5 separate regions of the Homo sapiens genome follow, and all the other regions are linked to region 1. Evidence: promoter capture Hi-C in 16 types of primary human blood cells and fetal thymus (Javierre and others, 2016). All regions are on one chromosome and are shown on one strand. The core of a region is centred on a gene start or on the middle of the fragment in contact, and the rest is flanking DNA. Distances in the headings are between cores, read along the strand shown.

Region 1 (5,139 bases), core at 609-3,108:
TTCAAGCAATTCTCGTGCCTCAGGCTCCTGAGTAGCTGGTATTACAGGTGCACGCCACCATACCTGGCTAATTTTTGTACTTTTAGTAGAGATGGGGTTTCACCATGTTGGCCAGGCTGGTTTCAAACTGATGACCTCAAGTGAACTGCCCACCTCGGCCACCCAAAGTGCTGGGACTACAGACATGAGTCACTGCTCCCGGCCAGCCCTGTTCTAATTGACAGTGTTTTCTCAGAAGTTTTCCTGGCTTTCCTCCCTCTTAAATAAGGGGCCTTAATTTTCTGAAGAAAAAGAAAGTGGTTTGAAGCTTACCTTTTCAGGCTCCCGGTACTTGCTGTATCTGTATCCAGGTAAAGGAACATATAGGGTGGTGTGGAAAAACCCCCAGCCCCACCATCTGCAGGAGCCACCCCCAGAGCAGACCAAAGAGCCTGTGGGAAAGGATACAGATAAACTCCTTCTGGTTGAGATGGAATGAAGTCAGGAGACATGGCATCACCCTCTATAACTAAAACAATGCACGGGAGACTCGTTACAGATCACATTGTACAGCCATGTTCCCCCTGTTAAACCAAGGAACGGCCCATCATTGGCCCATGAATTCTATAGAAATGGCTGCTTTAAAACTGCTTCAGATGGTTTCATGTGGTCTTAGCATCTTTATGTAGGAGGAGAGCAAAAAGCAGAAAGGTAGGTGTCAGGGCAGAGACCAGGGGTTTAGATGAAAGTTCAAGACAGAATTCCACTTCCATCCCCATTCCCAGCTTTATTTTCTTCAAAATCTGAACTGATGCTATGCTGCCGGCCTCCAGTCTGGGGGTGGGGGTGGATTCTTTCGAAAGGCAAAATAACCTCAAAATGATTCAGTCACTGCAAAGGGATTCAGACCTGCAGCCTTGAGTACCAGTCTAGTCTTTGTTACTTACTAGCTGCTGGAGTCTGGGTAAGTTACCTCCTCTCTGATTTCTCCTCCATCAGAGGTGGAGGAGAATCCTACCCATCTCACAGGGTTGTGTGAGGACTTAAGATCCCCAGAGGCGTGGCATGTGCCTGCACAGGGCCAGCCTCGGCAAGCCTGACCTCTGCTCATCATTTTCCCTGAGGTGGGGGTTCAATGCTGCAAAGACTAAGCCAGGCCAAACCGCACCCGTTCGCGGCCCTCTCCTGCAGCCACTCACCCACTTCCACGAACTCGTTGTTCTCTAGGGCCACCTCGAGCCGGTCCTCGTTGTCCAGCAGGCCCAGGCCCTTGCACCGGCGCACAAGGAAGTGCGCGTCATCCACGGAGGTGAAGCCACCATTGTCGGGCTTATTCTTGATATAGCGCCTCACGGCCTCCCGGCCCAGCCAGCCCACAGTGAGCTGCGCGTCCTGGCAGGGCACTGCCAGCCATTCCCCACGTACGTGCACCGTGTATCTGGGCATGGCTCCGCTGCAGCCTGAGGTCCTCAGCTGGTCACAGGAGGGGAGAGCTTTATGCAGGAGTGGCTACCGGGGTGTGGTCAGCTGGAAGGATGAGAATAGACTTTCAAACCACTCCCCCTCCTTCACCTTTACTCATTCATGCATTGGACAAATATTTATTGAGGTACCTGCTGTCCCTTTGGTTTTTGTAGCCGAGCAGGGGCAGGAGCAGGGGATGCAGACGGGTGAGCCTCCTGTCCACTTTCCATCCAGACCTGCTGCCAGAAAGGCCTGGGGTCTCCCACCCTGGGAGGTGCTGTTCTTGTCCCTGATGGCACCTACCTGCTGCTGGCCCCCTTTCTTCAGGGTCCCCAATTTCTCTCTCTTCCCTCGTTTCTGTCTGTGTTCTCTGCCATTAAGGGCAGCTTATAAACACCATGTTCCTGTCTTTATCTGAGATTACTCAACTGTAAAACGTGTTCTGTGGGCCAACTGTGACACTGGGAGTGTGGCAATCGTCACTCATTTGTTTATTCCACAAACATGTATTGAGCAACTACTTCCTGTCACCAGTAAGGTTTTCTGAAGCTTTCTTTCCACCAGGGAAGACTGCAAAGGCCAGAGATCATTTTCACAACTAAAGGTCGTCATCTGGGCAAATGAACCACTCTGACTTGGAGATTAGGGGCTCAGACAGCCGTGGATGAGAGTCCAGCTCTACTACTTATTAGCCTTGATTAGGTGAGTATTACCCTGTATTTCCTTATCAGAAGGCCTAGGGGCTAACTGCCTCCTTCCAGTATGTGCAGGATTTACCTGTGATCAAATCCTGGCTCTGCCATTTGCTAAGTGTATGACTTGTGGGCAAGTGATTTGACTTCTCTGGGCCTCAGTTGCCTCATCTGTAAAATGAAGATAATGGTAATGATGATAGTATATATGTCAAAGGGCTATTGGGAGGATGAAGTCAGTTCATATATGTAAAGCCCTCAACACAACACCTGGCATAGTGGAAATATTATAGAAGTGTCTGTGATTACTAGTATCTGGACACCAATACTCCATGTAACTATAATGCTTTATAAATGTTCTGTATGAATCATAAAGCTATAAAGTTCCATAAATGCTCTTTCATCTTGGCACATGGATATCCCTCACCCAATTAAGCTTCTTCACCACAGATAACTGCTCCCTGCACCCGCCTTATTACCATTGGTATTAAGGAACTCTGGATAGCATGATTACGGCATCAAAGATATGCAGATGCTATTTTGACTAAGCAGCACTTTCATCGTAAGCCAATTTTTAGAGATTTGATTATTGCACTAGAAAAATCCTGAAAAGTCTGTTTCCACTAAATCAGACTTCTGTTGGGAAGAGAGACATGGTTGCTCAAGAAAAACACCTATACTCATACCCAGAGTCCCTCTCATCTGCTGACAGCTTCCCAGGAAGCGTACAAATAGCTACCCTTCCTTGAGCCTTATTGAAACTTGCTCTTCAGATACCCACACCATGACTGCACCCTGGAATTTGTCATGACCTGAATTTGACACACTTAAGAAATCACCCTGGAATCTGTCACGACCTGAATTTGACACACTTAAGAAATCTGAAATTCCAATATTCCACCTTCTGACCACAACCTTCCAGCTGCCCTTTTACTCTAGTCACTGCCAGCCTTGGACCTGACCTCCAGTCAGTCTCTTCATCCCTCCACTTCCCACCAGCATCCTCACTTACTATCCTAGGAAGCTGGTCCCTAGTCGCTCACTGGACCACTCTTTCTTAAGCACTCTGAGATTCCTTTGCATCCCTAAACTTATGTCTACACTTGGAATAACACCCATCCCCTTAGTCATCACAAAAAACAGCCATCTCTTGGAAGGATTGCTTAAGCCTAGGCAGTCAATGCTGCAATGAGTTATGATTATACCACTGTACTCCAGCCTGGGTGAGAGCAAGACCCTGTTTAAAATTAAAAGAAACTGTCATATCTGTTCACCCAGGCAGAAGACACTGATAGAGAAAGTCCTGTGATCACATAGTTTGATGGTATTGCCCTTTTATTCCATCCAGCCCACAGTGACTTTCCAAAACTTTGACCCCTCTGCCAGGACCTTCTCGACATCCACCTCTAATTCTCAGAAGGAGACCTTACTTCCTACATCTGTGAGAAAACTGAGGACTGCACATGTGAACCACCTTAACCTTCTGCCCCACCCCCCCCCATTCATTCCTTGACTCATTTAACAAATATTTTTTCAACACCTGTTATGTAACAAGCTCTATGCGAGGTGCTGGGGATGAAATAAATAACAAACACGCTCTACATTCATGAGGCTTACTGTCTGGTGATGGATAAAGCTGTATAAAGATGACTAATAAGAGGTCTAACTATCTTCATGCTGCAAAACAACCCAAACTACTGCATGCTCCAGTTGACTGTCACTGCCGAGACCAGCTTCTGAGTAATTTCAGCCCAGGCATCAGACTAGTGAGGGAAGGAGCTTCCAGGTGATACCACCTCCCAGCCATGTAAGTCACCCCCAGCAGTTTGAGGATTCTAAACTCAGGCCCTACGCATTGTGGAGCAGAGTCTTCCTTGTTATTCTTTCTCCAGAAACGCACTTTCCAACTTCCTTTGCCTGTCTAGATCTTTCTTACTCCTTAAGCCTGTTTAGGCCTTTTCTTCTCCAGGAAGCATTCCCTAAATTCTTCAGTTGGGTTAAGTGGCCCTTCTCTGGGATGCCTTAGCATAGCTCTTCTTTAGTATTATCTAGGAAATTACTTGTCTGTGTTCATCCATAATTATGTATATATCCGATCTGGCACAAAGACATTTAGCATATGCTTACTAGCTGAACTGAAGAAATGTGAACTGCACCGAGCTGGCCCCTAGGTAAACCAGCAAGCAGGATTAAGTTTGTCTTTAGCGCCCTCTACCTTCTTCACAGCACCCTTCCATGCCACCCTTCAAGCATCCCTTGTCACAATTCACTTTCAGTATCACTAAGTGATAACTAAAAACGACATTAACTTACAGCTTGTCTTGTAAGCTCATAGGGCAGAAGCCTTAAAGAGCAGTATTTGGGTAAATGGATTTGCTAAAGTCTAATCTTAGAACATGATCTTATGCCAGTGATTTGAGCTGAACTCCCTTCTCTGTATTCTTGGCAAGGAAGGCAAGGGAGAGCAGAGCCTGGAGAAAGAATCACACTGCAGCATAGATAAGTGACCAAGAGGACAGAACGAGGCGGGTGGATTGCTTGAGCCCAGGAGTTCGAGACCAGCCTGGGCAACATGGCCAAACTCTTTCTCTACAAAACAAAAATTAGCCAGACATGGTGGTGCATGCCTGTAGTCTCAGCTACTCCAGAGGCTGAGGTGGGAGGATGGCTTGAACCCAGAGGCTGATGCTGCAGTGAGCTATGGTCATGCCACTGCACTCCAGCCTGGGCGACAGAGTGAGACCCTGTCTCAAAACAAAACAAAACAAAAACTGCTAGGGAGAGTGAGAGCCAGGGAAAAGTCAGGATTCCGGGAATAGGCAGGAATATGTCTCTTCCATACCTGTCCCACCTTGGGTGTTCACTCCTATTGTAACTTTAGTCACTGCATTAGCACTTTGAGGGGTTATTTGGTCAGGACACCGCTCCCCACCCCCACCCCATGCCAACAATTATACTCTAAGACACCATTCCTCTTACACAATTTATTTGACCAGAGGTGGAC
Region 2 (5,427 bases), core at 285-2,784, 530 kb after region 1:
ACCAGTTTCATTAGTCTTTGCAAAGAAACAATATTTGACCTTGTTGATCTTCCCTATTGTATGTCCATTTTCCATATTATTGATTTTTGCTCTTCATTACTTCCTTTATTATACTTTCTTGGGTTTGCTTTACTGATTTAAAAAACTTATTGACTTGGAAGCTTAGATCATTGATTTTTAGGATTTGTTATTATTTACATTAAATGCATATTAAGACATTTGTTCTAAATTCAGCTTTAGCTATGTATCTGAAGTTTTGATATATCATATCTTTATTACTATTGGAGTAAGAATATTTTCTAATACGCAGTGTGATTTATTCTTTGATATATGGGTTCTGAACCAAAATATGGGAGATTTTCTAATTATCTTTTGGTTACTGATTTCTATGTTAATTATACTATGGTCAGAGAGCACATTATGTATTATTTGGAACTGTGAACATTTGTTAAGATAGGCTTTATGGCCTAGCACATGACCAGCTTTGGTAAATAGTCTGTGTGTACTTGAAAGACTATGTATTTTTTGTTGTTGTTGGATGCATTGCTTTATATATATGTTGATTAAGTTAAGCTAGTAAATCATGTGGTTAGATCTTCTCTATCCCTACTGATAGTTTTTGTCTTTTTATTTTATGAATTACTCAGAGAAATATGTTAAACATCTGCTATGCATTTCTGTTGGTGTGGAATTGCAAGAGCATGGGATATTCCCATGTTGCTTCATTGGATACTGTTTTACAAAGTGGTTTTTTTTAGTTTGCACACCCATCAACATTTTATCAGGGTTCCATTACTCCAAATTTTCTCTGACACTTAGTATTATCTGTCTTTCTCATTTTGTCCATTTTGGTGTGAATTCAGTGGTGTTGCAGTATAAACTTAAATTTCTCTGATGACTAATAAAGTTAAACACTTTTTCATATACTTTTTTCACTATTGGATATCCTATTTTGTGAGGTGCCTATTTTAACCTTTTGTCCTTTTTTCTGTCGATTCATAGGAATTCTTTATCTATTCTGGATATAATTCCTTTATTGAATACATGTATTGCAAATATCATTTCTTACTTGATGGCTTGCCTTTTCATTCTCTTAATGATATCCATTGGGGAACAGAAATTCTTAATTTTAATATAGTCCAATTTATCAATATATCCTATATAGTTGATCCTTTGTGTGTTGTGGTTAAGAAGTTTCAGCTACCCCAATGTCGTAAATATATTCTCGTATGTTTTCTTCCATAAGTTTTATTGTTTCTTCCTTAAGTTTATGAGGTCTATAATTAGAAATTAGATCTTTTTTGTTTATACGAAGTAGAAATCAAGATTTATATACTTCTATATGTATATTCAGTTGACACAGCACCATTTATTGAAGATAACTTCCTTTAGTTGGCTGCAGTATCCCTTAGTCATAAATTAGGTGGCCGTATGTGTGTTGTCTGTTTTTTCACTCAGCATAATTCTCTTGAGATGTATCCAGGTTGTGTGTATTAATAGTTCACTTGGCGGGGTACCATGGCTCATGCCTGTAACCCCAGCCCTTTGGGAGGCCAAGACGAGCTGATCCCTTGAGCCCAGGAGTTCAAGACCAGCCTGGCTAACATGGCGAAACTCTGTCTCTACTAAAAATACAAGAATTAGCCAGGCGTCATGGCATGTGCCTGTAGTCCCAGCTACTTGGGAGGCTGAGGCAAAAGAATCATTTGAATCCAGGAGTCAGAGGTTGCAGTGAATGGAGATCACACCACCACCACTGCACTCCAGCCTGGGGACAGAACAAGACTCTGTCTCAAAAAAAATTTTTTTTCACTTGTTACTGCTGAGTATTATTTTATGGTATGGATACACCACAGTTTGTTTAACCACTTACCCTTTGAAGGACATTTGAATTATTTCCAGTTTTTGGCTACTAGAAATAAAGCTGCTATGAACAGTTGAGTACAAGTTTTTGTGTGAAGGTAAGTTTTCATTTCTCTGGAATAAAATGCTCAACAGTGCAATTGCTGGATTGGATATATGATAAGTTCATATTTAGTTTTGTGAGAACCTGTCATACTATTCTCCAGGGTGACTCTACTATATTTCCACCAGCAATGTGTAAATGATCCAGTTTCTGGACATCCTTGACAGAATTTGGTGTATCATTACTTTTTTATTTTAGCCATTCTGATAGGTGTGTAGTAATATCCCACTGTGACTTTAATTTGCATTTCCCTAATGGCTAAAGATGTTAAACAGTTTTTCATGTGTTTATTTCCCATCTGTATACTCTCTTTTTCTCTAGTGTCTTTTGTTCACTTTCTAATTGGATTGTTAATTATTTCTCTTGAGTTTTGAGAGCTCTTTTTATGTTCTGAATACAAGTCCTGGTCATTGCTTTTTAAGACAGAAAATACCTTTATTAAGATTTTTTTCTCCTCATCATTACTTCCCATTTTTCATTGCTTCTTTCTAAATTCATTTCTTTTTGCTGAAATACAAACTCTAAGAATTTTGAAGTAGTTTGGCTGGATATAATAGTTTACTTACAAGTTTCTTTAAGATTTTGATGCTCTTTTTTATAATCTTGTATATATAGTGTTTCTGTTGAGAAGTGTAATGTCAGTTTAAATCTTGTTGTTTTATAGATGTATCTTTTACAATTTTCTCTTTCTTATGACATTCTTACATTTTATTCTACTGGATCTAGGGGTGGGTTTAGTAATGCAGCAGATACTTTGAGGTCATATCTTTCTTTCATTTTTTCATGTTACTTTTAAATTTCTTTCCTTATATTCATTATTTAAAAAAAAAATCCTTCAAGGCATTGAAGATGCCATTAGACAGATGTTAACAGGATAGATGTTCATCCTCCATGTCTTATTTATTTTATTCTTTTCATGTCTTTATTCTGTTGCATTCTGGGAAGCTTCCTCTATCTGATTTTTCAGGTCACGAATTTCATCTTTGATTCTCTCTGTTCTACTCTTCTGTTTACCTATTTAATTATTTGTTTCAACAATGATATACTTTTTTGTTATTTTTGTTGTTTGTTTGTTTGAGACAGAGTCTTGCTCTGTTGCCTGGGCTGGAGTGCAGTGGCACGATCTCAGCTCACTGCAGCCTCTGCCTCCTGGGTTCAAACGATTCTCCTGCCTCAGCCTCCCGAGTAGTTGGGACTACAGGTGTGCACCACCACGCCGGGCCAATTTTTTGTATTTTTAGTAGAGATGGGGTTCCACCATGTTGGCCAGGCTGGTCTCAAACTCCTGACCCCAGGTGATCTGCCTGCCTTGGCCTCCCAAGGTGCTGGGATTACAGGCATAAGCCATCGCACCCGGCCATCAATGATGATGTACTTTATACATTGAATCCACTTGGTTCTTTTTTCACAGCAGTTGTTCTTGCCTTATGTTTCTAATATCCTCTTTTATTTTTCTGAGAGAACACTTTCACTTAAATTCTTGTTTGTGCTTTTCCATTTTCTTGCTTCTTGTGGTAAAGGATGCTTCATTTGTGGTTTTTCTTTCAAGATGTTTTTGCTTTTAATTTTCTTTTCCCATGAGCTTTCCTTCTTGGAACAATTAGCTGACTTGGCCTTAGTGTCCACCTGAGAGGAGGGAGAAAAGCCTAGGGTTAGCTCCTATGCCTTTAGGTGAGTTTAGTGTGTGGGTGTGGGCACATGTGGGTGCACATGTGTATGCGAATGCCCATCTGAATGCAGGGAACTTCTGGTGCCATAGTTTGGGCTCTTCTCTTCCTAAGAAAAATACAAGTTTTAGATAAGAATTTCCTTGACTTTCTTCACCCAAACCCCCAAATTTACCCTCATGCATATTGATCCTTTCCCACTATCTCTCATTTAAATGGAGGAGAGGGGATGTTTCTCTTTGTGTCTTTAAGCCTAATCCCTCCAAGTGTCCAAGTGGTCCCATTATACCGTGCCCTTTTTTTTTGAGACAGGATCTCACTCTGTCACCCAGGCTGGAGTGCAATGGTGCGATCATTCTTCACTGTAACCTGGACCTCCTGGGCTCTAGTGATCCTCCTACCTCAGCCTCCTGAGTAGCTGTGAATACAGGCATGTGCCACCATACCTGGCTAATTTTTGTATTTTTTGTAGAGGTGGGGTTACTCCATGTTGCCCAGGCTGGTCTCGAACTCCTGGGCTCAAGGGATCCACCTGCCTTGGCCTCCCAAAGTGCTGGGATTACAAACATAAGCCACTGTGACTGGGCCTCCGTGTTTTCTTTCAGCTTCCTCCCTATAGGTCTTCTTCTTGGTACAGCCAGATTTATTGACGGTATTGTCTGTTTTCATTGTTCCTAAGTATTTTCTTTCTACTTATACAGTGGGCAGACTCTAGCACTCTACTAAGAATGTCATGGACAACCTTATTGCTCAATCCAGGGGTCACTTTCAGTTACTTTCAGTTACTTTTCTTTTCTTTCTTTCTTTTTTTTTTGAGAGTCAGGTTCTTGCTATATTTCTCAGGCTGGACTCAAACTTCTGAGCTCAAGTTATCATCCTGCTTCAGCCTTCTGAGTAACAGAGACTATAGGTGCACGCCAATAAGCCTGGCTAGTCCTTTTCTTCTTTACTTTCTGTATCTATGTGTTACTGTTGAGTACTCCTTTCTTTCTAAACACTCACCTTTGCAGCCTTTATTCCCTCTGCTCTTCTCTTAAATGTTGGTGTTTCTTATTATTCTGTGCAAGGCAACATGATCCATGGCTGAATCTACTATTTACTGTGGATGTATAATGATGACTCTAAAAGCTCTATCCCCATTTTAGATCTCTTTCCCAAGTTTCCAACCTGTATCTAGGAACTCTTGCTCATTCTGTGTTTGAGATTCCATTCTCTTTCCCCTGAGTATCCTTCCCTAACTGCCCTCCTTCCCCACATCTGTGTTGGATGCCCTTCCTATTTGTCCCTAAAGCACCACCCTGTATTTGCCCACTAAGATTTCTTGTTTCCCCCACTAGAACGTAAATCTTATGAAAGCAGGGATTGTGTTTTCCTGGTGCCTGAAAGTGTCTATAGTGAATATTTAATAAATATTTATTTGCATGAGTGATATTCAAAACTCTCTTCTTCCTTTCCTAGTGTCAAATATTGGTGCAGATGGAATGCTTGATTTTCCAAAAACATCTCTTCTGGAACTTATGATAGGAAGAAAAGATGTTATTTCTGTGGATGCTGCTGTGAAATTTATAAAATTAGCTTTTACCTATGAGGAGTGGAGTTTATTTGAATCTTCTGCTGTACATCTTATTTATTTTCTCCAGGTAATATATGCAAAATTATCCTCCTGGTTTTTTTTTTGTTAAAATGACATCCAATTACTAATTAACGTGTGGGATATACTTCCCCAAGAGGCAGGATGATCCAGAGTCAAAGAAAGCAGAGAAGGATTTAACTCTTCTGATTGCAATGGAACCA
Region 3 (4,939 bases), core at 1,002-3,501, 560 kb after region 1:
TAGTTTCATGATGGATTTGCATCTTGAACTAATTCAAGCTCAGCATCGAATAGCTGTTGTGCTTCTGGACAAATTGCAAGGTAGTAGTCACTAAAGCAAGTAACCATTCTGAATCAATTTTAAGCCAGACTCCAGTACAGAATCAATTTAATTTGAAAACTGTGTTCTTGTTGACTTAAGTTTTCAGATAAATTTCATTTTTTTCTACTTCCCTAATTAATATCAATAAAAACATAATTAAATCTTTCCTTATTGCTTTACACTTTGCATATTAAATCAGTTAGTAAACTTCTTAAAAAGTTAATTATGTTTATTTGTGTTATAGTAAATTATTTTTTGTTAATTCAACCAAGCAAACATTTACTGAGTACCTACTAAAATCCAGGCATCGTATTAGGCTAGGTGCCAATAAGACAGTCTACTTTTGAGCTTCTAGATGAGTAAGCCAACCATATCAGTTGAGGTTGATACATTTTGTAATAGGGGTGGGCTCAGAGTATTATGGGCACACAGAAATATCTATATCAAATAAGAAAGTCAGAGATGAGTTCCTGGCAGGGGCGTGTAAAGCATTCAAATAATATTGTATATAGAGCTAAATAGATTTATTCAAATGCTGGTTAATTTAAGAGTGAGCAGTGTAGACACACTGCTGATTGGTGCAGGAAGATGAAAAAAATATTTATACTGAGAATTCTAGCCAATGCAAGAAGATAAGAAAAATAAAGATATAAGGATTGGAAAAGAAGAAACAAAACTGTTCTTTCCAGATTATATGATTGTCTACCTAGAAAATGCAAAAGAATCTATCAGCATATACAAAAATAATAATATATAATACATAATATATAATATGTAATATATAATATGTAATTATATTTCTATACAACAGCAGTTAGCAAATATAATAAAAAGACATCATTTTTATATCAAAAAAATCTGTAAGGTACCAAGGGTTTCAATCTAACCAAAGAGCTACAAGTATGCAAAAAATTATAAGACTTTACTGAAAAATGTTAAAGAACTATATAAATGAAGGTAGATTGTGTTTATTGATAAGAAGACCAAATAATCAGAAAGATTATTCTGATTTCAGTTTTATTCAAATAGATCTATAGACTCAATGCAATTTCAATAAAAATTCCAGTAGGATTTTTTTGGGTAGACCTTTACAATCTTTTTACAAAATGTAGGTAGAAGACATAAATAGCTAAGACATTCCTGAAGGAAAAAAAAATCAGGTGAGTGTAGGGGATCTCGCTCTAACATAAGTCAAGATTTATTTCAAAGTGCTAGAATACCTCATATTCATTGGATAATTGGATATCCATATGGATAAAACCAAATTACATTTCTTACCTTCCCATACACAAAAATATCTTCCAGATGCACCAAAGAGTTAAATGTAAAAAAAAAATCTTAAAAACTTTTAGAAGAAGATATGGTAGAATATATTTCTAAGCTTGGAGTAGGGAAGATCTTCTTAAACAAGATTCAAAAAGTGCTGATCCTAAAAGAAAAAAATGAATACATTAATACATTTGGCTGCATTAATATAAATAAATTCTCATCATCAAAAAATTTTAAAGATAAGGAAAGCAAAAAAAAAATAAAAATAAAACCCCAAAACCACACCACACCTAGGAGAAATATTTGCAATTTATATTTCTTTTCTTTTTTTTTCAAATTAAATGCTTTTGCTTTTCCCTTCCAAGTCCCCCATACATTTTTCACAATTGTATTAGTTTGCCATTATTGCTGTAACAAATTACTACAAACTTGAGTGCATTGAAACAACACAAATATGTTATCTTACAGTTCTGGAGTCAGAAACCTGAACTGCAGCTCACTGAGCCAAAATCAAGGTGTCACATGCACATGTATGTTCATTGCAGCACTATTCACAATAGCAAAGACATGGAATTAACCTAAATGCCCATCAATGGTAGACTGGATAAAGAAAACATGGTAAATACACACTATAGAATACTATGCAGCCATAAAAAGGAACAAGATCATATCCTTTGCAGGAACATGGATGGAGCTGGAGGCTATTATCCTTAGCAAACTAATTCAGGGATAGAAAACCAAATACTGCATGTTGTCACTTATAAGCGAGAGCTAAATGATAAGAACACATGGACACATAGAGGGGAACAATAGACACTGGGGCCTTTCTGAGGGTGAAGGGTGGGATGAGGGAGAAGGTCTGGAAAAATAACTAATGGTACTAGGCTTCATACCTGGGTAACAAAATAATCTGTATAACAAACTCCCATGACATGAGTTTATCTATGCAACAAACCTGCACATGTACCCCCGAACTTAAAGCGAAAGTTAAATAATAAAATCAAGGTGTCAACCGAGCTGTATTCCTTTCTGGAGGCTCTGGGGGAGAACTTGTTTCCTTGTCTTTTCCAGCTTCTAGAGGCTACCTGCATTCTTTGGCTCATGACCACTTTCTATCTTCAAAGGCAACGATGACCAATTGAATCTTCCTTCTCATGCCATCTCTTTGTCTAGTGGCAATTTACTAACGATTAGCATGAACAATGTACAAAAATTCCAAAACATCAATAATAAGACAAATAACAAGACAATAAGCAAAAGAAAGAAGGAGAACTTCATAGAAAAGGAAGAAGTTATGGCCAATATAATTATTTTGTAAAGCTAAACATTAATCTAAATTATGACCCAGCAATGTCACTCATAGGTACATACCCTGTAAAATTTCTTGAACGTGTACACCAACTACAGATAGAAGGATGCTTGTAGAAGCAGTGTTCATAATAGCAAAAAACTGGAAACAACCCAAGTGTCCATTAATAGAGAATTGATAAAGAAACTGTGATATATTCATGTAAGGGAATATCACATGGCAATGAAAATGACCAACGTGGATGAATTCTAGAAACATAATTTTTGTTTTAAAACAGTAAGTTTTAAAAGACTACATTCAGTGTGATGGGAGGATGGGGTCAGAAAAAAATAAAATGAAAGACTACATTCAGTAGGATGTTTTAAATCAAGCTCAAAAATGAAAGCTTGGGATTCTTAAGGCTTATTATATATTATATATAATAAGTAACGTAATAATTGATAAAACTGTATATTAAAAAGTGACCTGCATATACATAAATTTATCATATAAGGAAAACTATAGTTATCAGGTATGCAGGTAGTCCATAAAGTCTGGAAACATAGACATATGTCCTTTGAAGACATTATGTATAACTCATCTGCATTTCCAGATTTTATTGACACTCTCTATCTATAAAATTAAAAAGAATGACCTTGAGTTTAGGACAGTGGTTCCTTTGTGGAGGTGGCAGGGAGATGGCGTAGGAAGGAAAAGCATATAGGTAGATGTAAGTTACTGCTAATGTTCCAGTTCTGGTGCTGGGTGGTGGTTTACATGTGTTCATGATATTAATGTGATTTAAAACATACATACATGATAAATATATTTTTGTATTTATAAAATAAAATATTCAAAGGTAATTTAAAAATTGAAAGTTTTCCTAGGTTGACAAAAGAATTAACATTCAACATAGTACTGGAAGTCCTAGCTAGAGCAATCAGACAAGAGAAAGAAAGAAAGGGCATCCACATTGGAAAGTCAGATTATCCTTGTTTGCAGATGATAACCATCTTATATTTGGAAAACCCCAAAGACTCCACAAAAAACTATTAGAACTGATAAACAAATTAAGTAAAGTTGCAGGATACAACTTTACTGGAGGAATCACATTACCTGACTTCAAATTATACTACAGAGCTATAGTAACCAAAGCAGCATGGTACTGGCATAAAAACAGTCACATAGACCAATAGAACAAAATAGAGAACCCAGAAACAAATTCACACACCTACAGTGAACTCATTTTGACAAACATACACTGGAGAAAAGACAGTCTTTTCAATAAATGATGGGAAAACTGGATATTCATATGCAAAAGAATGAAACTAGACCCCTCTCTCTCTCACCATATATAAAAATCAAATCAAAATAGATTAAAGACTTAAATCTAAGACCTCAAACTATAAAACTACTCCAAGATACCATTGGGGAAAATCTCCAGGACATTGGTCTGGGCAAAAATTTCTTGAGCAATACCCCTTAAGAACAGGCAACCAGAGCAAAATGGACAAATAGGATCATATCAAGTTAAAAAGCTTCTGCCCAGCAAAGGATACAATCAGCGAAGTAAGGCTGGGCACTGTGGCTCATGCTGGTAATCCCAGCACTCTGGGAGTCAGAGGTGGGTGGATCACTTGAGGTCAGGAGTTTGAGATCAGCCTGGCCAACATGGTGAAACCCAGTCTCTACTAAAAATACAAAAATCAGCTGAGCGTGGTGGTGCATGCCTGTAATCCCAGCTACTTGGGAGGCTGAGGCAGGAGAATAGCTTGAACCTGGGAGGCGGAGATTGCAGTGAGCCAGGATCACTCCACTGCACTCCAGCCTGGGTGACAGGGCGAGGCTCCATCTCAAAAAAAAATTTAATTATACATTTAAAAATAACTAGAAGAGTATACTTGAATTGTTTGTAATACAAAGGATAAATGCTTGAGGGGATGGATACCCCATTTTCCATGATGTGATTATTATGCATTGCATATCTGTATTAAAACATCTCATGTACCCCATAAATATATACACCTACTATGTACCCATAAAAGTTAAAAATTAAAAAGTTAACTGTGGTAAACTGTTCCCTCCAACTTTTTATTTAACAATTTTTGAGCCTTCAGAAAGTTGAAAGAATAGTGTAGTGACTATCCACATAACCTTCACCTAAATCCACCAATCATGACCATTTTGCCACGTTTACTGTCTTTCTCTTTACATGCACATATAAATATGTATATTTATACATCTATGTATAAACATCTGTAGATGTATATACCTATTATATCAATATCATATTATGTATGT
Region 4 (4,934 bases), core at 1,968-4,467, 510 kb after region 1:
CAGCCCTTGTTTGAGTGGTGGAAATGAGCATGATTCCCTGTCTTTACTCCTTTTAAGATCACAACCCAAACATAGTCTTTTTTTTTTTTTTTTTTTGTCTGAGACAGGGTCTCACTTTCTCACCCAGAGTGGAGTGCAGTGTGGCATGATCACTGCAGCCTTGAGCCTTGAACTCCTGGGCTTAAGCCATTCTGCATCAGCCTTCCAAAGCACTGGGATTACATTTCTCTCAATAATCTTTTTTTTTTTTTTTTGAGATGGAGTCTCGCTGTGTTGCCCAGGCTGGAGTACAGTGGCATGATCTCGGCTCACTGCAACCTCCACCTCCTGGGTTCAAACGATTCTCCTGCCTCAGCCTCCCGAGTAGCTGGGATGACAGGCACGCCCCACCACACCCGGCCAATTTTTGTATTTTTAGTACAGACGGGTTTTTACCATGGTAGCCAGGCTGGTCTTGAACTCCTGACCTCAGGCAATCCGCCCGCCTCCACCTCCCAAAGTGCTGGAATTACAGGTGTGAGCCACCATGCCCGGCCTCTCAATTTTTTTTTTTTTTTTAAAAGATTATTTCTGTATCCTTGATATCTTTTTCTTGGTATGTGCTTTTTTCCTTTTCTCTTTTTTAATACACATGGCATTGTGCTCTAGATTTTATTCTGTTTCCTTTTTTTTTTTTCCTGCTGAATATTGTGGGGTTTTAGAATCTAGCTAAGTTCCTGTATGTAAATCTAATTCATTAATTCTGCCTGCTGAATTATATTGCAGATATCCATACAGGCCTGGCGATGAGCACCTGGTTTGCCTGACCTCTCTAATTGCACAAATAATTCTGCAATGAATATCCTTACACATGTCCTTTTATAGACCTGTGCGAGAGTTTTCTGGGATCTGTGCCTAGGAGTGGAATTACTGGGTTCTGGGAGATACACATACTTAGTTTCAGTAACTACTCTTCCTGTTTTAATTTATTCTCTAACTTACTGAATGCCTACCATATGCTAGGCATTGTTCTAGGTGCTAGGGACACAGGAGTGGACAGTAGACAAAAACCACATTCTCATGCTGACTTCCATTGCAGGGAGATGCTAAACAAATCAAAACTGAATTGTGTCAGATAGTGACGAGGCTATGGAGAAAAGTCAAAGCCAGAAGGGGATAGAGAGAGGAGGGGCTGGGCTGCTGAGATGACAGAGGAACAAAGACCTGAAGGAGTTTGGATAGTGAAACTTCTGGGTATCTGGTGGAAGGGCATTCCACCTGGGGGATCAGCAAGTGCAAAGACCCTGAAGTTTTGACAGTTTGGAATTTAAGTAGTCAAAACTATATTTGACTGAAAATGTCAAATGTGCCTTGATAACTTATCAAAATACATTTGACCTTTTCAGTTAGACATTTACTCTATTTACTTTTAATTGACTGTTATACATACACACTCTTGGTTTCTTCAAATATTTAACCAATCTTGGTTTTTAAATAAAAATTTAGGCTGCACACAGTGGCTCACACCTGTAATCCTAGCACTTTGAGAGGCCAAGGCAAGCAGATCACCTGAGGTCAGGAGTTCAAGACCAGCCTGGCTAACATGGTGAAACTGGGTCTCTACTAAAAGTACAAAAATTATCCGGGTGTGGTGGTGCATGCCTGTAATCCCAGTTACTCAGGAGGCTGAGGCAGGAGAATTGCTTGAATCTGGGAGGCGGAGGTTGCAGTGAGCCAAGATCATGCCACTGCACTCCAGCTTGGGTGACAGAGCAAGTCTCCATCTCAAAAAAAAAAAAATCTAATTGGGTATATGGATATTAAGTAATACCTTACTTTTCAACTAAAGTGAACCCAACTAATTTAGACCCTCAACTAGATTATTTTGATGGTGGCCATTTTTAATGAAAAGGACTCACAAGACCAGGCAATAAACTCCTATTAGGGACTTGGTTAAAAATGAAACAGGCCCGGCATGGTGGCTCACGCCTGTAATCCTAGCACTTTGGGAGGCCCAGGTGAAAGACCAGCCTGGCCAACGTAGTGAAACCCCATCTCTACTAAGAATACAAAAATTGGCCGGGTGTGGTGGCGTGTGCCTATAATCACAGCTACTTGGGAGGCTGAGGCAGGAGAATTGCTTGAACCCGGGGAGCAGAGGTTATAGTGAGCCGAGATCATGCCACTTCCCTCCAGCCTGGGCAACAGAGCAAGACTCCATCTCAAAAAAAAAAAAAAAAAAAGAACAAAGGAAATAAACTTCCAGAAATACCCTGAGATCATAAAGATTCAGTCTGTGTTCCATCTGATACCATTTACTCTCTGAGTCTGGCTTTTGCAGCAGGAATTTGTGAGCCATGCCAAGATCTTGAACTGTCAAAGGACTTAGTTACAGTCAGAACATTTTAGTGCTGGAAAGGTGAAAGGCACCTTTTTGAAATACAGAGGGCCCTTGTCATTCTTGAGGGCAGTCTCCTGAGGCCTTCCTCAGTTCCCCAGTTCCCCGTTACTGGCATGTTTATACAGGCTCCTGGCTTACATCCTCATCACATGTTTTTTGGACAGGCATGTGTTTCCTGTGCATATTTTTACTTGGTGACTATTTTTTTTTCCTGCAAAGAAACACTTAGACAGTTTTATTTTTAAAGATGAAGAGTAGAGGCCAGGAATGGTGGCTCACGCTTCTCATCACAGCACTTTGGGAAGCCAGATTACTTGAGGTCAGGAGTTCGAGACCAGCCTGGCCAACATGGCAAGACCCCTGTCTCTACTAAAAATACAAAAATTAGCTGAGCGTGGTGGCGAGCGCCTGTAATCCCAGCTACTTGAGAGCCTGAGGCACGGGAATCACTTGAACCCGGGAGGTGGAGGTCACCGTGAGCTGAGATTGCACCACTGTACTCCAGCCTGGGTGACAGAGCGAGACTCTTATCTCAAAAAAAAAAAAAAAAAAGAAATGAAAAAGATGAAGAGTAGAGGTCAACAAAGCCTCGTTGAGATAAGTCTGCTGAGCTTGAGCTGTTATTAGTCGAGTGGTTTCTTCCCCAGTGGATCTTCAGTGGAATGAATAACTGCAGGTGCTGGGGGTAGTCACATGAATAATGCCAAGTCCCTGAATGTTAAGGACCAATTGCATTCTCTATGAAATTTAGGGTACTATACATTTAAATTTAAATTTTATTCAATTTTGGGGGTCACTGATTTGTGTAATTGATGTTTATTATGCTTATAGTTGTGTTCTAATCAAGTAATAGATGTTTTGGTGCAGTTGCCATTTTCTCACAAACTTTTTATTTATTTATTTTTTTGAGATGGAGACTCGCTCTGTCACCCAGGCTGCAGTGCAATGGCGCAATCTTGGCTCACTGCAATCTCTGTCACCTGGGCTTAGGCAATTCTCCTGCCTCAGCCTCCTGAGTAGCTGGGATTACAGGTGCATACCATCACGCCCAGCTACTTTTGTGTTTTTAGTAGAGATGGGGTTTCTCCACGTTGGCCAGGCTGATCTCGAATTCCTGACCTCAGGTGTTTTGCCCCCTTCAGCCTCCCAAAGTGCTGGGATTACAGGTGTGAGACACCACGCCCGGCTGGGATTACAGGTGCACACCATCATGCCCAACTAATTTTGTATTTTTAGTAGAGATGGGGTTTCTCCATGTTGGCCAGGCTGGTCTCGAATTCCTGACCTCAGGTGTTTTGCCTGCCTCAGCCTCCCAAAGTGCTGGGATTATAGGCGTGAGCCACGGCGCCTGGCCATCAGAAACTTAAAAGTTTAAACCTGAACATAGAATTCATAATTGTTGAGTTTTTATGGTTACGAATATTAGATACTTTATAGAAAATATTTAGACTATCTGTTACAATTACATGCCTTTTTAAAGCATGCTACCATCTTTTGGGTATGTTTATAGATAGATAAACTGCTTGTATACAGAGAGAAGTATGGTGATGTTCCCCACTCCTCTCTTCAACCCTCCCTCCAGCCTTCTATCCTCTTTTAATTAATGGTCTGACACAAAAGCATGTGTCCTTACTTAGGTGTTGGAAATGCTATTTTTTCACTAGAATGCTAGTAGGACACACCTTGATAATAGGAAAAATGTTATATGAGTCTGAGAGTGAATATAACGTGCCCTGTTATGCATTATGATTTTTAAATTATTATGAGTTTCCTTGTTGAGTATTTTGCCATGCTGATTAAATATGTATTCTGATCTTATTTGGAGATAAATCTTTAGTTTTTAAATGATAAGGAAACCATGGGAACCAATTTTATATATATATATATATATATATATATATATATATATATATATATATATGTATATATTTGAGATGGAGTCTTGCTCTGTCGCCCAGGCTAGAGTGCAGTGGCATGATCTCGGCTCACTGCAACCTCCGCCTCCCAGGTTCAAGCGATTTTTCTCCCTCAGTCTCCCAAGTAGCTGGGACTACAGGTGCATGCCACCACGCCCGGCTAATTTTTGTATTATTAGTAGAAACGGGGTTTTACCATATTGGACAGGCTGGTCTTGAGCTCCTGACCTCGTGATCCTCCCGCCTCAGGCTCCCAAAGTGCTGGGATTACAGGCGTAGCCACTGTACACAGCTGGGAACCAGTAATATTTTATATGAATTAATGAAAGCACAGGGTACATAAATTATGCCACTAGAATTATTCTTTTGTTCATTATACTTCAAAAGTTAAATGGCCTGTAAAATGAGACTAGAAGATTCCTGTGTCAACATATTTAAAATACGGCCATGTTAATTATTTTAATGATTTTGTTTACAAGTTACAAGAAAAATTATGATGAGTATAACTCTATATACCATTATCAGACTTCCTCATAAGATCACTTGTTTTGGGAACTACAGACTTGAACCACAGAAATTGGAATATAAAATTTCTATCATTTGACTGTAAAACATGTTAACAATCGTTTTCTCCATCC
Region 5 (5,627 bases), core at 1,805-4,304, 880 kb before region 1:
ACTCTTGACCTCAGGTGATCTACCCGCCTCGGCCTCCCAAACTGCTGGGATTACAGGTGTGAGCCACCGCACCTGCCCTTCAAGTCGTATGAAGAGAGTTTGTAATGGATTTTGTTATCAATATATTTTTACTTTCTAGCCCTACCTAAATAAACATAATATAAAAACTTCTGCAACCACAGAAGTTATTTACCTTGAGTGTCTCTGTAATCTCCAGCATCTTCTATGAGATTCTTCAAATAATCTAGAAAAGAAGAAAAAAAAGTATTTAAGTACAATAAACCAGTGAGCCCCAAACACATATCTTTCTTTTTCAATACTTCATTAGTCTTGCTGGTTAATATACATGCTAGTCCAACTTGTGCTAACTTTCTAAAAATGTGAAAAAATAAAGCCCTGAGATCAATTTGAAATCAAGACATAGAGTCAGAGCTAGAAAAAGCCTTGGAGGAAACATTGGTTATTTTAGAGATGAGGAATCAGATTACTGAGCAAAGGATCTCACCCAACTCACACAACCTCTAGTTGGCAGAGCCAGCATGAGAATTCAGGTCTCCTAATGCCCAATTCAGCTTTTATCCCAACACATAGGAAGTACTTTAATCTTGAGATCAGACACACGTCTAGTATAAAATTCTAAGGCATTAATCCAATCCCTAAAAGTCTCCTGGATTTGTTAATCTAAGAGTCTAACAATGCTCAGGACACCAAGGGAACTCAATATATGTATTTAAACAGGTGGTTTTCAAATGGGGACAAATTTGCCCCCTAGGGTACATCTGGCAATGTCTGGAGACAGTTGTGGTTGTCATAACTGGGGAAAAGCGGGGGCTACTGGTGGCTAGTGGTTAGAAGTCAGAGATGCAGACTGGACTCGGTGGCTGATGCCTGTAATCCTAGCACTTTGGGAGGCCAAAGGGGGTGGATCACTTGAAGTCAGGAGTTCAAGACCAGCATGGCCAACATGGGGAAACCCCATCTCTACTACACACACACACACACACACACACACACACACACACACACACACACACACGTCAGACGTGCTGCTAAATATCTTATAATGCAGCCCTGCAACAAAAAAAAAAATTATCTGACCCCAAATATCAATAGGTCTGAAGTTGAGAAACCTTGGTTTGGATAAAGATAGTCTGTAAATAAGTAATATGGTATATAGTAGTTCTTGTAATACAGAAAAAGAGGTAATAGAAGAACCTATATTTAATAAATCTTTAACACCAAGGTAAGTCATGGAATTTCAAGGCAATACTTCCTTCTCTGTTGAGAAATGCTGGATGGCCTCCCATTACCTGTTAAATTAATACAAATTCCTTTCTGGAATTTAAAGCCCCCTGCTACATGGTCCCTATCAATTTTTCTCTCTCTCTTGCTACTGCCTAAAATGGGCCCTTTGTTCTGACTAAATTTGATCTGTGCAACCCCTTAAACACTCCCCATGTGTCCCCCTGGCTTCACACCTTTTGTCTCTAATAGTCCCTTTTTCTCCATCCCTTCCTCTGTCTCGCTTATACAAATTCTACTCACACTCTTCAAGGCTCTTCTTAAATGCCCCTTCTCTTACAAAATTTCCATTTGAAAGAAACGTTTTCTGCCTTTGAATAACACATGACACAGCAGTCTCACTTTATGCTTCTATCATTTTCTTTTTCATTAGACTCAAAGCTCCTTGTGAGCAAGTCATCTGACACATCTTTCTCTCACATAGCACTTAGTCAGGGGCTTTGCACAAAGGGGACAATAAATGCTTACTGAATAAAAACAGTTCACTTACTCATTCAAGACAGAGTCTCACCCTGTCGTCCAGGCTGGAGCACAGTGCTGCAATCATTGCTCACTACAGCCTCAAATTCCTGGACTCAACCAATCATCCTGCCTCTGCCTCCCAAATAGCTATGACTACTGGTGTGTGCCTCCATGTCTGCTTTTTTTTTTTTTTTTGCAGAGGCAGGGTCTCGCTTTATTGCCCAGGCTGGTCTTTAACTCCTGGCCTCAAGCAATCCTCCTGCCTTAGCCTACCAAAGTGCTGGAATTACAGGCAGTGAGCCACTGCACCTGGCCAAGAATATATTATTTTTTAGATAGGATTGTATTTTAGTTGAGGTAAAAGGCAATAAATGCTGAAACCAATTCTAATGCCAGTGGGAACTGAGGAAATGAAAGGAGGAAAGGTGTGTTCAGTGACTGAATATATCTTTATCAGACCCAACTGCTAGTTAGTACTATTATGGAATAGATACAACTTCATCTCATGGATTTATGACATCATGCTCAGAGGAACAAAGGAAAACAGGGGTATTGGTGCCAGATCTTCAAACATAACAGATGACACAAACACGCGCCCAATTGCTGAAACTTCGTAAGTCTTTGAGACAGTGATCTAAGAGCCTGTGTGAGTCTAGACGTGCACCTTATAAATATCCAGCACTGGCAATAAGCCATGGTGAGATGTTATGTATAAACATATTAAGCTTCCCTGCGCCATGGCATAGGTTCTATCTTGCCAGAGACCATCGCTAGCAATTTAGATCTTAATCTGAATGAAGAGAGCATCCCCCGCAAAATATAAAGGAAAAATGAAGTGGGCACACACAAAAAATAAAAAATTCCCAAATTAACAAAATACATAAGTTATATGTTACACTTAGCCCCATCTGGAGATGAAAATAAATATTCTCACTCTGACCCCACTCAGAATGCATTCAATATATTACATAATCCGTGTCTGGTGAGTGCAAACATTTAACATTTCTATGGCTGACAGTTGACAGGGTTGGGGAGACAAACTTACCCTACCCTCCCTATTAGATGTTCTCAAACCCTAAGCTACCTCATTAATCAAGTGATTTTCCTTAAGCTGTTAGATAGTTACTATATCTTGTTGTGGGAAGGAATGCAGATTTACCTAAATATTGGACTCATGGCGACTTCCTAGTTTGTCTTAAATTTCTGTTTTTTAATACAGAAGTATATCCATGAAAACAGAGACATTTCTCTAAACCAAAAGGGCTCCCCAGAAGATGTCCATATTAGGAAATCCTGACCTCAGAATCACTGTGCTGAGCCTCATAAACTTCTAAGTTGCATTTTCTTTGCTTGTACTCAAACATGAACTTTTATGAACACAGTTGAAATACACTGAGCAGAAAACCCACCGTTAACACGTTGCAACATCATGCTATTAATCAAGGAAGTAACGGAGTTAGGTTTACCCTCCTTGCCAATTTTTAAAAATATCTTTATGGTCTACAAAATCCAACTCTCCAACTTATCCATCCATCCATCCATCCATCAACCCATCCATCCATCCATTCATGTTTTTAGGGCATCTTCTTGCAGTATATCTTTTTGAGAACTTTTACCTTGGCAAAGAGAGCAGGGCCTGGATCTCCTTAAACAGTTAAGAATCACCTGGGGCCTTAACTGCAGCATAAGAATGTGACTGATCACCCTGAGTCAGATGGGAGGAACAGGAAACCAGTAGCTGCCCCAGTAACTGTTATAACCCAGGTGAAACCCAGGAAAGGAGACCAGACAGACACGCCTATATTGGTCATAGTGAACCACCTATTACCTATCACTTAGGACCTGGTATTCGGCAGAAGCTTTCCTAATAACAACGAGGAGAGCAGTCATTTCAGTTTGCCATGTTAGACTGGTAGTATTCTATGACCTTTCTGCTCCTGCCAAAACAAATTGAGCATTATTCAAAACTTCACTAATAAAACTGCCTCAAATGCCACTGAGGTTATTTTTATCAAAGGAAAAAAAAAGCAGATGTTGGTTCAGCATGTAGGTACACTACAAAATGTACTCTCTGGCCACCAGGTGGCATCACTGATTAATAAAAGTTAATTAACTCCATCACCATCACCCAACATGAGTAGCAAAAAATTAACTGGAACACAACATACTATGTGCAACTTCTAGGGATATGCAAGCTGCCTTTTTTTTTTCTTTCTTTTTTTGGAGGGTCTCGCTCTGTTGCCTAGGCTGGAGTGTGCAGTGGTGTGACCAATGCTCATTGTAGCTTCAATCTCCCAGGCTCAAGTGGCTGTCCCACACCTCAGCCTCCCAAGTAGCTAGGACAACAGACCTGTACTACCACGTTGGGCTAAGTTTTTGATTTTTTGTAGAGACGATGTCTCACTATGTTGCCCAGGCTGGTCTTGAACTCCTGAACTCAAGTGATTCTCTCACCCTGGCCTCCCAAAGTGCTGGGATTATAGGTGTGAGCCACGGTGCCAGTACAAGTTAATTTTGTTCTCATATAAAATGCCCAAGGCCACCGGGCGCAGTGGCTCATGCCTGTAATTCCAGCACTTTGGGAGGCCGAGGTGGGCGGATCATGAGGTCAAGAGTTCGAGACCAGCCTGGCCAACATGGTGAAACCCTGTCTCTACTAAGAATACAAAACTAGCTGGGCATGGGGGCGCATGCCTGTAATCCCAGCTACTCAGGAGGCTGAGGCAGGAGACTCGCTTGAACCTGGGAGGCAGAGGTTGCAGTGAGCTGAGATCGTGCCACTGCACTACAGCCTGGGTGACAGAGCAAGACTCTGTCTCAAGAACAACAACAATAACAAATTCCCACGGCCAGGCATAATGGCTCATGCCTGTAATCCCAGTACTTTGGGAGGCTGAGGTGTGCAGATCACTTGAGGTCAGGAGTTTGAGACTAGCCTGGCCAATATAGTGAAACCCCATCTCTACTAAAAATATAAAAATTCACCAGGCATGGTAGTGGGCACCTGCAATCCCAGCTACTCAGGAGACTGAGGCAGGAGAATTGCTAACTCAGGAGGTGGAGTTTGCAGTGAACCGAGATTGTACCTCTACACTCTAGTCTGGATGACAGAGCGAGACTCTGTCTCAAAAAAAAAAAAAAGAAAGAGAGAGAGAGAAAGGATGAGGACCCAATATATACTATATCTTGTTGGAAATCTAAGTTTTCTGTATAAGGGTTCCCAGGGAGCCTTACCACCACTCATTGATTACCTAATCAATACATAACCAACTTAGAGCAGAAACTAGTCGGAAGTCCTGTTAACCATTAATAAAAATTAGTCATCTGTGGGAATCTGGGACTTTTTGCATTCAACACCCAGTCAGATTCCTGGACCGTGCACTGAGAAATGTTTGGCAGCAAAGCACAGAGGAAATGAGTGTATAGGAGGGATAACATTCCAAAGTCAAGTGTTTTGAATTTGAGGACATGTCTTGCTTTGTATTTTTCAGATTTCTTCTTTCCTCCATAAATATGTAGTGGGATCAGCAACACATACAGAATTATGGGATCCAGAGAAAAGTAAGTCTAGTCAATATGACTTTGTAAAGTTTTATGAAGTTTCAGATTTTGCAAGAAACAACCTAAAATTAGCCTGACTTGTGAAACAAAGTACTGATCATTTTAAATACCAAAAACAAGCATCAAGTGTCAACTTACAAAACATACTGACACTTCAAGGCAGCTTGGCGAAGTGGTCAAGAGCCCTTGCTCTGGAATTAGAAGACAGAAATTCCTGGGCCAGGTGCGATGGCTCATGCCTGTAATCCCAGCACTATGGGAGGCCGAGGTGGGAGGATACAGCCTGGGCACATAGTGAGACC

Evidence for each region. Contacts are between HindIII fragments. The CHiCAGO score rates a contact against its expected background, and 5 or more counts as called.
Region 2: a fragment that was not itself captured here is called in contact with the fragment with the promoter of HAL in region 1 in 6 of 17 cell types (activated CD4 T cells, non-activated CD4 T cells, total CD4 T cells and 3 more); the score reaches 9.1 in activated CD4 T cells.
Region 3: a contact is called between a fragment that was not itself captured here and the fragment with the promoter of HAL in region 1, in 2 of 17 cell types (non-activated CD4 T cells and naive CD8 T cells). The highest score is 6.5, in non-activated CD4 T cells.
Region 4: a contact is called between a fragment that was not itself captured here and the fragment with the promoter of HAL in region 1, in 1 of 17 cell types (fetal thymus). The highest score is 5.3, in fetal thymus.
Region 5: a fragment that was not itself captured here is called in contact with the fragment with the promoter of HAL in region 1 in 3 of 17 cell types (naive B cells, total B cells and naive CD4 T cells); the score reaches 7.4 in naive B cells.

What each region holds. Positions count from the first base shown.
Region 1 is chr12:95,994,486-95,999,624 of GRCh38, forward strand. It overlaps HAL (histidine ammonia-lyase), which reads right to left and starts at 1,859. Exons shown (of 21, transcript NM_002108.4): 1 at 1,593-1,859; 2 at 1,179-1,506; 3 at 448-508; 4 at 313-340. The coding sequence starts at 1,425. LOC102723340 (a long non-coding RNA gene) reads left to right here and starts at 1,997. Exons shown (of 4, transcript XR_945237.4): 1 at 1,997-2,145; 2 at 3,846-3,942. RefSeq lists enhancers at 2,072-2,241, 3,466-3,760, 4,207-4,266. The HindIII fragment of the contact is 1,685 bases long and covers 306-1,990 here.
Region 2 is chr12:96,528,701-96,534,127 of GRCh38, forward strand. CFAP54 (cilia and flagella associated protein 54) reads left to right here. Exons shown (of 68, transcript NM_001306084.2): 10 at 5,092-5,273; 11 at 5,362-5,427. Among named protein-coding and RNA genes, the nearest start is that of CFAP54, 42 kb to the left of the region's middle. The HindIII fragment of the contact is 2,750 bases long and covers 160-2,909 here.
Region 3 is chr12:96,554,723-96,559,661 of GRCh38, forward strand. It overlaps CFAP54 (cilia and flagella associated protein 54), which reads left to right. Exons shown (of 68, transcript NM_001306084.2): 17 at 1-80. Among named protein-coding and RNA genes, the nearest start is that of CFAP54, 68 kb to the left of the region's middle. The HindIII fragment of the contact is 1,582 bases long and covers 1,461-3,042 here.
Region 4 is chr12:96,508,050-96,512,983 of GRCh38, forward strand. The region is part of intron 4 of CFAP54 (cilia and flagella associated protein 54); the gene reads left to right. Among named protein-coding and RNA genes, the nearest start is that of CFAP54, 21 kb to the left of the region's middle. The HindIII fragment of the contact is 6,696 bases long and covers 1-4,934 here.
Region 5 is chr12:95,113,458-95,119,084 of GRCh38, forward strand. It overlaps FGD6 (FYVE, RhoGEF and PH domain containing 6), which reads right to left. Exons shown (of 21, transcript NM_018351.4): 9 at 194-244. Among named protein-coding and RNA genes, the nearest start is that of NR2C1, 43 kb to the left of the region's middle. RefSeq lists an enhancer at 1,283-2,016. The HindIII fragment of the contact is 1,134 bases long and covers 2,488-3,621 here.